Linked DNA regions of Homo sapiens: region 1 is linked to region 2. The links are contacts of gene promoters, found by promoter capture Hi-C in human tissues and cell types (Jung and others, 2019). All regions are on one chromosome and are shown on one strand. Each heading gives the region's core, a stretch centred on a gene start or on the middle of the fragment in contact. The rest is flanking DNA. Distances are from core to core; before and after follow the strand shown. Region 1 has its middle 160 kb from the start of GZMB. Region 2 holds the start of STXBP6 (syntaxin binding protein 6).

Region 1 (6,305 bases), core at 2,924-5,423, 260 kb before region 2:
TGCCAAAATTTGAAATCTGAGGCTCTGACTTCTTGGAGTGCTCAGCAGTGTAAAGCCACTTCCTAAGGCCCAGCTTAAAATAATAATATGTAGGGACAATTTATCGAGCTCCTAGGATGGGTAGGCTTTGTTCTGGCCACTTTGCAGTTATTGCTTTAATCTTAAAAATGACCCTACAGGGTACCTTGTCCCTTTTGTACAGATGAAGAAGCTGGGGATCACAGCCAGGGATGTGCTACAGCCTGCTTACATGGGTTATGAGAGCCAATAGTACCAGTCTCTTCCCAACTTTGCATTCTGCGACATCACATTGGTAGCTTGAAATCAGCTATGGTGGGAGTATTTGCATCACAGAAATTGGCACATGTTACAAATGAGGGCTTTATTTATATATTTTGGGATCTTTGTGTTTAGCCATTTACCAGAATAACACAGCTTACAGCTAATAACCAGGCCAAGACTCAAACTAAGGTCTGTCAGTCTCCAAATTCTTGCCTGTCCTCCTGTGTTGGAAGAAGCTAGAGGCTGAGTTTCAGAGCCCGGTACTTTCTTAAGACTCTGCAGCTCTCTGCCCAGAGTCCCCACTCCCTGCCCCACCTTCCCCAACTAAATTCTGCTAACTCAAAATAGGAAGCAAAGTTCAGCCAAGGGCCATCCCCTTTATTCAGTTTCAACTCTTGCCAAAAAAAAGTCAAAAGATGAAGCTGTTAGAGAAAAACCAAAAAAAGACAAAGACAACTTGGCTTCTGTTTGTTCAGTATCCGTGAATAAATGCAAAGGAGGAACTGAATAAACCATTAGTTCCCAAATGCTTTCAGGAGCCCCACTGGAGAGCTCTTTTACTTGGCAGTGAGGAGAAGGACCCCATGGAAGCCTTAATTGGCACCATCTAATTACAGGAGATGGAGTAAATCTGTGGTCCAAGTGTCCATCTGCTTCTCATTTCCAATCAGTTAGCACGCATTAAAAGTGAATACAACATAAACTCAGGACAACCTCAGTGATGCATTACATTTCCAAGACAAGAGTAAGGCGAGAAATGAACTTCAAGGAAAATAACAGCAGAATGGGCCAAGTGCCCTACTAAAATCTGGCATGGACTAGAGTCAGACATTGAGAAAATGGCCTTTAACAAATAATTTAGTTTTTAATGACCCTGGACTCCCCACTGGCTATGATGACATTATCAATCCTCAGGCAATGTTTAATAGCCTTGCATATTCATTTTGCACATATTTTATAGTCCTTTTCTTTCTATATTTGTTTCATTTTTGGTTTTTAATTGTTAATCCTTTGGGGACAGAGATAATATCTATGAAGCCTATATGGAATGGCTGTATTTACCCAATGCCTGTACTCCTGTTTTATCTAGAAAGTAAATAACATGCTTTTGATTTTACAGGCTCATAGGTAGAAAAGACTTGCCCTATCTCAGATGATACTTTGGACTTTGGACTTTTGAGTTAATGCTGAAATGAGTTAAGACTTTGGGGGACTGTTGGCAAGGCTTGATTGGTTTTGAAGTGTGAGCGCATGAGATTTGGGAAGAGTCAGGGGCAGAATAATACGGTTTGGCTCTGTGTCCCCACCCAAATCTCATCTTGAATTGTACTCCCATAATTCCCACTTTTGTAGGAGGGACCTGGTGGGAAGTAATTGAATCAGGGGGGTGGTTTCTCCCCTACTATTCTCGTGGCAGTGAATATGTCTCATAAGATCTGATAGTTTGAGAAGGGAAAACCTATTTTGCTTGGTTCTCATTCTCTCTCTTGCCACTGCCATGTAAGAAGTGCCTTTCACCTTCCGCCATGATTGTGAAGCCTCCCTAGCCATGTGGAACTGTAAGTCCATTAAACCTCTTTTTCTTCCCAGTCTCAGGTATGTCTTTATCAGCAACGTGTAAATGAACTAATACAACTAATATCAAAAAATTAAAAGATAAGAAGTGTTGGCAAGGAAGTGGAGAAAAAAAGAACACTTACACACTGCTGCTGGGAATATGAATTAGTGTAGCCACTATGGAAAACAGTGTGGCGGTTCCTCAAAAAGTTAAAACTAGAACTACCATATGATCCAGCAATTCCACTACTGGGTATATATTCAAAGGAAATTAAATTAGTATGTCAAACATATATTTGCACTTTTATGTTTATTCTAGCATTATTCACAATAGCCAAGATATGGAATCAACCTAAATGTCCATCAGTGGATTAATGGATAAAGAAAATGTAGTATATATACAAAATGAAATATTATTCAGTCATAGATAAAATCCTGTTATTTGTGGCAACATGGATAAACCTGGAGAATATTATGTTAAGTGAAATAAGCCCAGCACAGAGAGACAAATACCACATGATCTCACTCATATATGGAGGCTACAAAGTTGTTCTCATAGAAGTAGAGAGCAGAATCATGGTTACCAGAGGATGGGGAGGGTAGGGGGAAAAGGGGGATTGTTTCAGATTGGTCAATGGGTACAAAGCTACAGTTAGATAAGAAGAATACGTTTGGGTGCTCTATTGTATAGTAGGATGATTAGAGTTAATAATAATACATTGTATATTTCAAAATTGCTAGAAGAGAGGTTTTTGAATGTCCTCTTCACAAGGCAACGATAAATGTTTAAAGTGATGGATATACTTATTACCCTGACTTGATAATTACACAATTTATACATGTATTGAAACATCATGTTGTACCCCATTAGTATGTGCGATGATTTTGTATCAATCATAAATTTAAAAAATGAAAAAAAAATTGAAGGGATTGCACTAAAGCACCAGAAGGTCTAACCTTCTATAGTTCTAAGAAAAACTGCAGGAGAGAGCCAGGATGTGGGAGCTGTCCTTCCCAGTGGGTCTCAGGGACACATTTTTGATGGTGGTGGTGGGAAACAGAACCACTACTTATGTCAAGAGACTTTAAGCCAATTAAAACTAAGCTCCTTTTAAAATTTTTTCGAGTACTAAGGAGATTTTTAGGTGGTCTAGCTCTCTTGGAATACAAACTACAAACTATTTTCTTTGGCTGCTCTTTACCTCTTATAAGTCAATGAGAGGATTAATGGTAAAAGGCTTTATTTCTGATCTTTGGAGGACAAGGGAAAGCTAAACAGGAGAACTAGATCAATATAGCATTGTTTCTTCTCAAAAGGACTTAGAATCATTGGGCATTAAATATGGGAGCCCTCAGCATCACCTGGGCCAAGTTTCATAGTTTATAGTCAGAAGTACTAAGGGTCACTCAAACCACTAGTTAGAGGGAGCATAGGGTTTAGAATCCAGCTGCTTTTTTGCAGGATTCTAAACTCTTCTGTGTAGAAAGAGGAGTACATTCTTGGGTCTGTGAAAACTAAAATTTGAAATACCACTTCTGCTTTTAGGGTAAACAACTTTGGGAGTATCTGCCTTGCTCAAGAATTAATTCTTCTCCCCTTTTCCCACAGAGTTGCAGTATGGCACTGTGGTGAGAAGTGGGACAACCATCTTAGCCAACCTGATGATGAGCTCCCCTGGGGATTGGGAATCAGGACTAAGTAATTCCAGCTTAGCCGGGGCTTCTCTCTAACCCTACAGCTATGCTAGGGCTATCTTCCATCAGCTGTGTGGGCTAACTGATCCAGAAGGATGGTCTTCAGGAGAATAAGAGATGGGAGATGGAAAGGGAGCACTCTGTGGCTTCAGGGACTTTCCATAACCTGGGCCAGTCCAGCTGTCCTGCCCAGTTCTGGGCCTGACCCACTGGGCAGGACAGCTCCCACCATCTTGGCTCTGCTACCTTCCATCTCTAGAGTCTATGACACACCTGCATGTTAATATGTAGCACCCTCCTACTCTCCAGCCCCTTAAGCTAGTTTGAATTGAATTGTTGCTGTTACATGAAACTAACAATTTTAACTAACATGGTTCCTTCTTATCTTAGAAGAGTCATCTTCAGGACTTGAACACATTTATTTCCACTTACTTTAATGGATGCTCTATCATATTCTTTTCAACTCTTTGAGAAGGCGTTCTTCTCTCCCATCCAATCAGTTGCTAAGTCAGGACAGTTTTCTTTCATAGAGACTCTCAAATCTATCATTCTTATCCATATCTAATGCCATTAAATTTTGGACCTTATTTCTTCATGTTGGTCATTTGCAATAATCTCCCAATTGGTTGGCTTGACTCTCATCTCTCATTTTTCATCCATTATCCCTTCAAATCTAATCCTAAAGCTTGCCTTGATCATGCCCTGCCTAAGTACTAAACTGTCTTTAGAATTCTGCCTGCCACAAGCAGGGCTATGTACGGGATTACTCACCTAAGCAACGTGGAAGAGATCAGAGGTACAAATTCAGGCATGTGTAGTGTGATGGACTGATGCACGGTCTGTGACTTGAGTTCAAGGCAGCAGCAGGGCCAAAGCTGAAGACAACAAGGAGACTTCTGCTGTGTATGTTTATGGGGTGGGAAAAGCAGTGTGAGAAAGGAGAGTAGTGAGTGGGGACCATGCCACAGGGGAAGGTGGTGGTGAGTGGTTTGTTACTGTACCAGCCTTAGGAACAAAGGGCCAGATGTGTCTAGAAAGAATATTTCCTTTCTTGGAGCAGCCAGAGCTCCCAGTCACTTTCCCACCCCAAATACTCAGGAGCTTCCCCTTTCGCTTCAGTGTGGCATTTAAAGCCTTACTTTTACAGACTCACACTTACATTCCAGGCTTATTATTATTATTATTATTTTACAAATCCTTCTGATGCATCTTCTGCTAAAGTTTTAGTAGAACTGGTATTTAGTGAAATCGGTACTATAGTGAAAAGATTGACGCCAGCCAATTGTTTCCAAAGAAGTGTCAGGGATGGTGCTGTCACCTTGGTGAGTGTTCAGTGATCTGGGGTCTGTCTGCAGTCTTCAGGCTTGGAAATTTGATTTTGTCAGCAGGTCAAATGCAGGGCCCCTTCCTGGGGTAGTGCTCTAATGGATGCTAATATTTTCTGTCTGTGTTTTCTTTGCTGAATGGTCTGATCTTTGTCTTCTCCACTTGCTGATCTCTGTTTACTGTGGGCTTTCCAGCCTCTTAACTTTGGCTCAGAAAGTACTCCTTCCTGAGCCCTCAGCAGTTCTATACTTTTCCAATAGTTGAAGCAGAACCAGCTACATAATTTGTGGAATTCAGTGCAAAATGACGGGCTCTTGTTTAAACACGTTTAATTATTTCAAGATGGTGACTGCAGAGTATGAAAGGGAACATGGGGTCCTGGGTCACTGCACTGGTTAATGCTCATAAAGCCAGCCCTCCTTTGTAAGATCTCTCCATTTCTCCCCATTCTCACTCCTTTTCACATCCACATAGTGAATTCTCAAAAATTGATTTTGAATGACAACGAAGGATATCAGATATACTGAAATGATACGGAGCTCTTAAAGGCTCTCTAAATCCATACACATTGCATTAAGAGAAAGCCTTTGGATTAATGCACGTTATAAAAATGATAACAGGAGTGTATGGCACTTTAAGTAGAAAACGACAATGGAATATTGGAAGAGTCATCCAGTCTTTGAAATAAATACCGATGGGCCAGAATCATGGAAGTAGTGAATACTAGGGAAGATGAGGGACCCCTTTTTGGATGTGCAAGAAGGAAAGAGGACAGAGTGAAAATATTAGACAAAAACAAAAACAAACCCTCCACCTAGCAAACATTAAGGCTTTTAGACTTTGGAGATCTGCTTTTTCTAAGGGTGCCAATGGTATTCCTGAAAGCACTTTGTGGGAGGGGGTGGGCACATTGGGGCTTGGGGGGAAGCGCAGGACAGGGGTGGGATAGGGGAATGGTCTCTCAAAAAACAACAATCTAATGAGCTTCAGTAATTAGCAAGGCTGCATTCTGCCTTCCCATCCTGGCCTGACAGGACAGTGAGAGTTATGAAACGGCTGCCAGCAGATGAATGGGGTTGCCTCCGCCATCTGTCTTCCAAATGATCCTGTAGGTACAGCTATTATTTCAGTCAGACACTGGCAGGTGGGCAATTGTTCACAGGCTCTGTGAAGAATAGCTGTTGCCAAGGGTTTGGTGAGTGTTACAACTTCCCACAGACCCGTTTTCGGCTTGTCTGAGACATTAAAACATGGAGGCGGCACAGGGTCTGTGACTGACCAGGATTCCTTCGTGGTCTTTTCCCCTCATGTATGCCACTCCGTGCTTCTTCCCACTCTTCCCTCCTCCCTCCAACCCCCCACCCCTCTCCTTCACGCTGTACCCTTTCTCACTCCTCCTCGTGCCCCTCACCTCAGGCTTCCCTCCTCATCAGTTGTTCCTCTTT
Region 2 (5,988 bases), core at 50-2,549:
GGCATCCTCCACAGCCTTACAATCCGCACAATGCCAGTTCCAGGGTCCTGGGGTCGCCCGGAAGGCAATCTTAGGAGAGGGTGGAATGAGATGGAAGTTCCTGCGGACCTACCGATCCTATTCTCTCCCACCCAGTCCCTAGGGAAGCGTAATAGGAAGGGGAGAAGGTTCGTTATGAAATCCTGGGGCCAGAACCAAGGGCAGATACACCCCGGGGACTTTCTCCTAAAGAACAAGATGTCTTTCCAAATTCTCCACCTGCAGGTCCTGTCCTCTGTGAAGATGAACGGGGTGGGGTGGTGAGGTGGCGGGGTGTTGTAAACCTGAGGAAAGGTTGGAGGGAAAATCAAGCCACCCACCTACTCCAGCCACGTTGCCCGGCGGTGTTGGTGAGGCTCGATGCCGGCGTGCACGGCAAGCGCGAATTCGGAACCTGGCGCCCTTGACCAAGCCTGAGATCGGAAAGGGGGCATCGCCCAGGGCCAGCGCCCTGGGGGCAGGGTGCCGTGCCCGCCAGAAAAGCTCGCCTCAGTTTTGGCAGTAATGATTTTCCTAGAAGATGCCAGAGTTCGCGAAGATCGGAGTGATTCGCGGATTTCTGCGCTCAAGCTAGAGGCGCAGCGACCCCGAGCTCCCCCACACTGGGAGCCTCGGGGCAGCATTCTCGGGGCCCATGCCATCGCGGGGACGGTGCGGAAAAAAAGGCTCCATCCTCAACTTTCTCGGAGGAAATCGCTCCGTTCTGCGGCTTGCCCAATACTGCCCGCACAACGGGTCCCAGGGTTGGAGAGAACCAGGGACACGAGTCCCTCTCTGCGCGCACAAAGCAGCTGCGCCGGGGCGCGCGGCCCCCTCTCCCGCCACCCGCCAACTTGGAAGAATCTCTCTGGGAGCCTGCCTACTCCCCTGGCCTCACAGCCACCCGCCTCGGACGGAGCGCCAGGCGCCCCAACAGCCGTGGCGGCTGCAACCGCATCTCCCGGGCTTGGCCTCCGCCCTGACCGCCTGGCTCCCCTCGCCCCGGTCCTACCGTGCAGCCTGGCTCGCGCCCCTGCCGTGCCAGTGCGCGGCACGCGTCCCAGAGCACGAGGCTCCTCCCCGGGGGGCTGCCCCGCGCGGGGCTCCGGGCTCCGGACAAGGCTTAGCCGGCCCGGGTGCTGGCTCGCCGCCGCTCGCGGCTCCCGCGCCGGCTCCTGCTGCCGCGCGCGAAAAGGGAGGGGTTGGGGGGAAACTCCCGGCAACTCCAACTCCGGGCGCTGGAGCTCCAGCTGCAGCCGCGCGCCCGCCCGCCGCCGAGTGCGAGCGCCTGCGAAGCAAACCTGCCCGCGCGGCCGCCTCTGAGCATGCTCAGTGCCGCCGTGGGCGAGCCCGAGCGCCCTGGCCCGGGGCAAAGAGCAGCGGCTAGGGGCTGGGGGCTGGGGGCCGGGACCCGCGACCCGCCCCAGGCCTCGGAGCGCGGAGGTGGCAGAGGAAGGGAAAGGCCAATGTAGGGGCGGGGGCCCTGAGCCAAAGACCCGGGAGAAACCGATCTGGGTGCAAGAGCCGGTGCGACTTTCACGGCTTGTGGGAAGTTTGTGGGCTAGAAAGGTGGGCTGCTTCTGTGAGCTTCTCTGTGAGACTATATTCGAAAGGACAACCAGGAAACATTTTTTTTTTTCTCTAGGAAAAAACGAATAGACCCAGCCGATGGGTTTTTATCCTGTGCGCTCCTTCCTTTATTCTTACGATAGCAAACTCAAAGATCTAATGGGGCCTGACAGGCACTGTAACTGGGGGAAGGCGAACTGGAGAGAGCTCCGAAGGCAGGGCCGCTTATCTGCTCTCAGGGTCCCTTGCTATCGGGCAAGAATTAGACCTAGTGTTGCTAGATTTTCTGATTTTTCCAGAAATGACGGAGTATATTCATGTACAATATCCTGATTTGTAAAATCTTGATAACAAATTCAATTTTCTCAAAACACCCTGGACTAAACAAAACATATCTGCGTCCCCTCCCTGCTGAACCCCCCAGACAGTGATTTGAGCATTGTGATTCTGCACTCTTTTAGCGAAGTGGTGCTGAGTGCTCACTGTGGTTTGGGAAAGTGCTGGAAAGGATCCAAGATGATTCAGAATATCTTCGAAGTACTACTAGTTACTAGGGGAAATGGGTTTTCCTGACAGTAGAGCGCTACACTTAAATGCTGGAGCGTTCAAGAAGAAAGACGTTACTAATGTAGAAAGCGGTTGTAAGAACTAACTTTTGGGAAACATCATTAGTAAAAGTATCTGTGTGGGGAGTCACTGCAGGGCCGATAACAGTGCCCCGGAAGGCACTTTTGAGCCTGAAGCAATAGGAAAAACCCCTAAACTTACCCTGTCTTTATTTAAAATTTTGTTATTTTTCATCATGCATTTTTGATATTAATTTTGATTTTTTTAAATATTCCATTAAAATATTAACCTTGATTACTGAATTCTTTGGTGAACCTTTAAGTGCTGTGACTCACCTCACCCTAGCCTGGCCCTGTTGGGGTGTTAGATGGTGGTACACAGACCTGCTTGTTTGGAGTGCAAGGGGTAAGCATTAGCATAGTGAAATAGGAAAGAGGGTTTGAGCTGTGGATGGGGGCTCAGGCAGAAGTCCTGACTGTCAGTCTGTGGCTCCTGCACTTAGTTTGTAGACTACGTGGAGATAGCAGAGATGCTGGGGGAGGAGACAATCCGAACTGAATTCTGTGAAGATGGACAGGGCAGCAGACCCAGGAAGATGGTTTGGAGGGGAAGAATGGGAGAAACGGGGATACCTAGGATATCATAAAACTGATACCCTAGGTATCCCCATTTGGTAGCTACAGTTTTATGAAAATCAGAGAAAATTGCCTGAAAAAGTAAGTTTCTTTTGCTCTGCCTATCTCTGTAGAGACATGTCATGGGGCTACCTTAGTGCCAATGAGTAGTGTGCCGGGGTCCTGGTCTTAACCTCAGCCATTTCCCTACCAGGCTTCCATGGGCAAGTGGCTCAACCTCTAAGCTTCACTTTCCTCATCTGTGGAAGGGAAAACAATTCTCATGGCGTTTTTGTGAGAATCCAAAGAAATGTATGTCTAAGGGCTTTGAAAATGTTGAGAGTTCTTACCTACAAGTCATCTATGTAAAATTTGAATTGAAATAAGGGCCTTTTTGCTTGACAAAAGCTCTAAGTAGCAAGCTTCTTTAATTTAGCAAGCCTTTCTAATGTGTTGGGATGATATTTACAAAACTTTGGAATCAGCTTTTGGGTAACTCAATAATTTTGTGAAGTAAGATACTACTGTACTAGCTTCTATTGCCAGTCATCTCCCTCTACTACCTTCCTTTTTTATCTTCACTTGCCTCTTTTTGTTCTCAATATTGCAGATCTAGTCAAGAGGACTCTCTCCCTCTGTACAAAGTGTTCTCTAACTCATGTACCGGTCATCACGGTAGTGTCTGCCTCAAACACCTGGGACCTACCTTAGTGTGGGAGGTGATTCTCCCTGCAGGTAACCTAATTTGTTGCTGCATTCATGGAGAACAAACCACTGCTTATCTATGGGAAGCATTTTAAGCATGCAGACCTCTCAAAGAAAACAAAAACAAAAACAAAAACAAAAAAGACCGTGGATGTTTAAACAAGAAGCCTTCCAGAAGTCATGTAAAGGAGGAAGTACCTAGCCCAGGATCTGTCACATAACAAGTAGTTACAAATATTTGCAGAATAAATAGCAATTTCCATCGTCAAAGTCTTCTGCATCTGTTTCACCTCCCACAGTGCCTAGGATTTTTTTTTTTTTTTAATCACAATAATGGTAAGGTCATAAAGAAGAACAAGAAGAACAGGAACTAAACATTTATGCAGGGAGAGGTTCTGTACTTTAACAAGTGAAATGCTTTGCTTACATTTTAAATTGTATTTTTAATTCTTGTTAGCAAATAATACATGGTATTTAAAAAAAGTTCAGTGCACAAAAGCTCAGTACAAGGAAAAGCAAGTTTCCCTTCTCAAGAAAGACTAATGTTGCCTGTTTCTTGCATATAGTTATAGAAATACCCTATGCACGTGAGAGCAAGCATAGTCATTTTCTTTTCCATAAAATCTAATCACAAAATGATAGAACTGAAAAAGACCTTATGGTTCATCTAGATGTTAAGTTAGAGGCTTTTAAATTGCTATTCTGGGAAAGAAAAGGAAAACCTAAAAGCGATCTTCCCTGTTTCATAAGTAAGCTCATGATTGTAAGGATGCCAGATCACGTGGCAAAACCCTCCATGTGAACATTAATCACATTAAGTGATACAAGGGAAAACTGAGTTCACCTAAAGTTGCCCTGAAACCCATAATGCCCACTGTCGACCTCAACCTAAAACACCCATGGATATAGATGTCTTAGGTTCCCTACGGCTGTTGAAGGAAGTGCTGTCTAAATAACAAATGGAATAAATTGACATGGACACAGAGGGCTTGATCTGGAATTGGGTATTATAATGTGACTATTTTGAACAGCATCTCTTATGCATCATCAATCACAGTATGTCTTCAAGACTAGTAAAGTCTATATTTAAAATTTTTTTTTCTGCTACATGGTGTAGCAAGTAGCTTTTCAAATTCTTCATTCTGATGATGTAATTTCAGATAAGACATTTAGGAAGTCATCAGCTTATTAACTTTTGGGTTGAACCATATGAAACTGCCATTTTTGTTGGTCATAGTTTCTAAAATATTGGAAATTTCAAATGTTCCATCTTCATTATATTCCTCAAAGTTAGTCCTTGTTCTAGAGCTGTAAGAGGACTTCCTTTAAGTTTTTTAGAATATCACATTTTCCTGCAAGAGCTATGTCACTAAGCTAGTTCCAAAAAACCTATTTAATGTTTGTGGTTTGTAATGGTACCAGATTCACATCTGGTCCTAGGAACTGAGCCTATTCTGTTCAACAGGGTCAAGAAAAAGAAATAAATTTCTCTTCCTCTTTTGAGGGGTATAGCACCGGCCTTTCTGGGCCTTGAAATAGGTGAAAATAATAATTATTTTCCTTTCTGCTCTTTTTGCACCTTACTTCTCCAATATTCTCCTGAAATCCTTTTTCCTGTACCTATTGTCCTCATTCTGTCTGGCCTTTTTCTATCTCAATCAGCTTGTCTTTGCTCTTTATTCTTAACAATCAGCATTCATTTAGTATGCTGCAAGTTGGAACTAAGTAAAATAACTTGATTAAATGAATTCACAGTCGTGTGCAAGACTATCTGCCGTTCCAAAGACATATGCAATTTTAAGAGTATCTTGTAGTTGCAAATGAACATTTCCATAAGAAAATTTTGGAGTTTGAAAAATGACTAGAGAAAGAATCCTGGTAGTGAGGGGCAGAAATAATATATTGAGGAGCAGGAACATTTGGTTCAGTTCCCCATTTTTATACATTTTGTAATTTCTTCTCACCCTTTTACTTTAAAAATATGGATTCTTTTAAAGTTTAGGATTTCATTTTGACTTTCACAATGGCTGTCTTGCCAGTAGCAGTGAGCACCTCCAGACTAGGGAGAGGTCTGCGCCTACTGTATGTATGTGCCATTTGTAAATTGGGAATGAAATGTGTCGCTTCTGGTAACATCGGTATGATGGGATCTGGGAGACCTTCGGAATTCAGATGGGCTTATGGAGCTTATATTTGGGACCCTATTCTGTTTCCTATACAATTACCCTTGGTCTGTGGTTTTATCCTTTAAGGGTTCTAGCTGTCTATAACTGGAGTCCACCTTCTTTTTTGACTGAGGTGACATGGTCCACATTTTATCTCTAATTTACTAAACATATAGTTCCTTCTCTGCTCTGCTTTTAAGAGTCAAGATAAATATTGACTGCTGATATCAAATTTGGTGAGCTTTGGCCCACTATCATTCACTATAAGATGGAACATTTCTGAGATATGTGGCAAACTGTGGTTCTCATTTCTTCCTTCTCACCTTTATCGGTTTTCCACTGTTCTCCAA

What was found. Contacts are between HindIII fragments. The study calls those that stand out against the background at their distance.
Region 1: a contact is called between a fragment that was not itself captured here and the fragment with the promoter of STXBP6 in region 2, in 1 of the 25 tissues and cell types used here (dorsolateral prefrontal cortex).

The regions. Positions count from the first base shown.
Region 1 is chr14:24,788,849-24,795,153 of GRCh38, forward strand. No RefSeq gene overlaps it. Among named protein-coding and RNA genes, the nearest start is that of GZMB, 160 kb to the left of the region's middle. The HindIII fragment of the contact is 8,433 bases long and covers 1-6,305 here.
Region 2 is chr14:25,048,848-25,054,835 of GRCh38, forward strand. It overlaps STXBP6 (syntaxin binding protein 6), which reads right to left and starts at 1,300. Exons shown (of 6, transcript NM_001394410.1): 1 at 1,031-1,300. It overlaps LOC124903295 (a long non-coding RNA gene), which reads left to right and starts at 1,497. Exons shown (of 2, transcript XR_007064091.1): 1 at 1,497-1,587; 2 at 3,379-3,743. The HindIII fragment of the contact is 10,437 bases long and covers 1-4,589 here.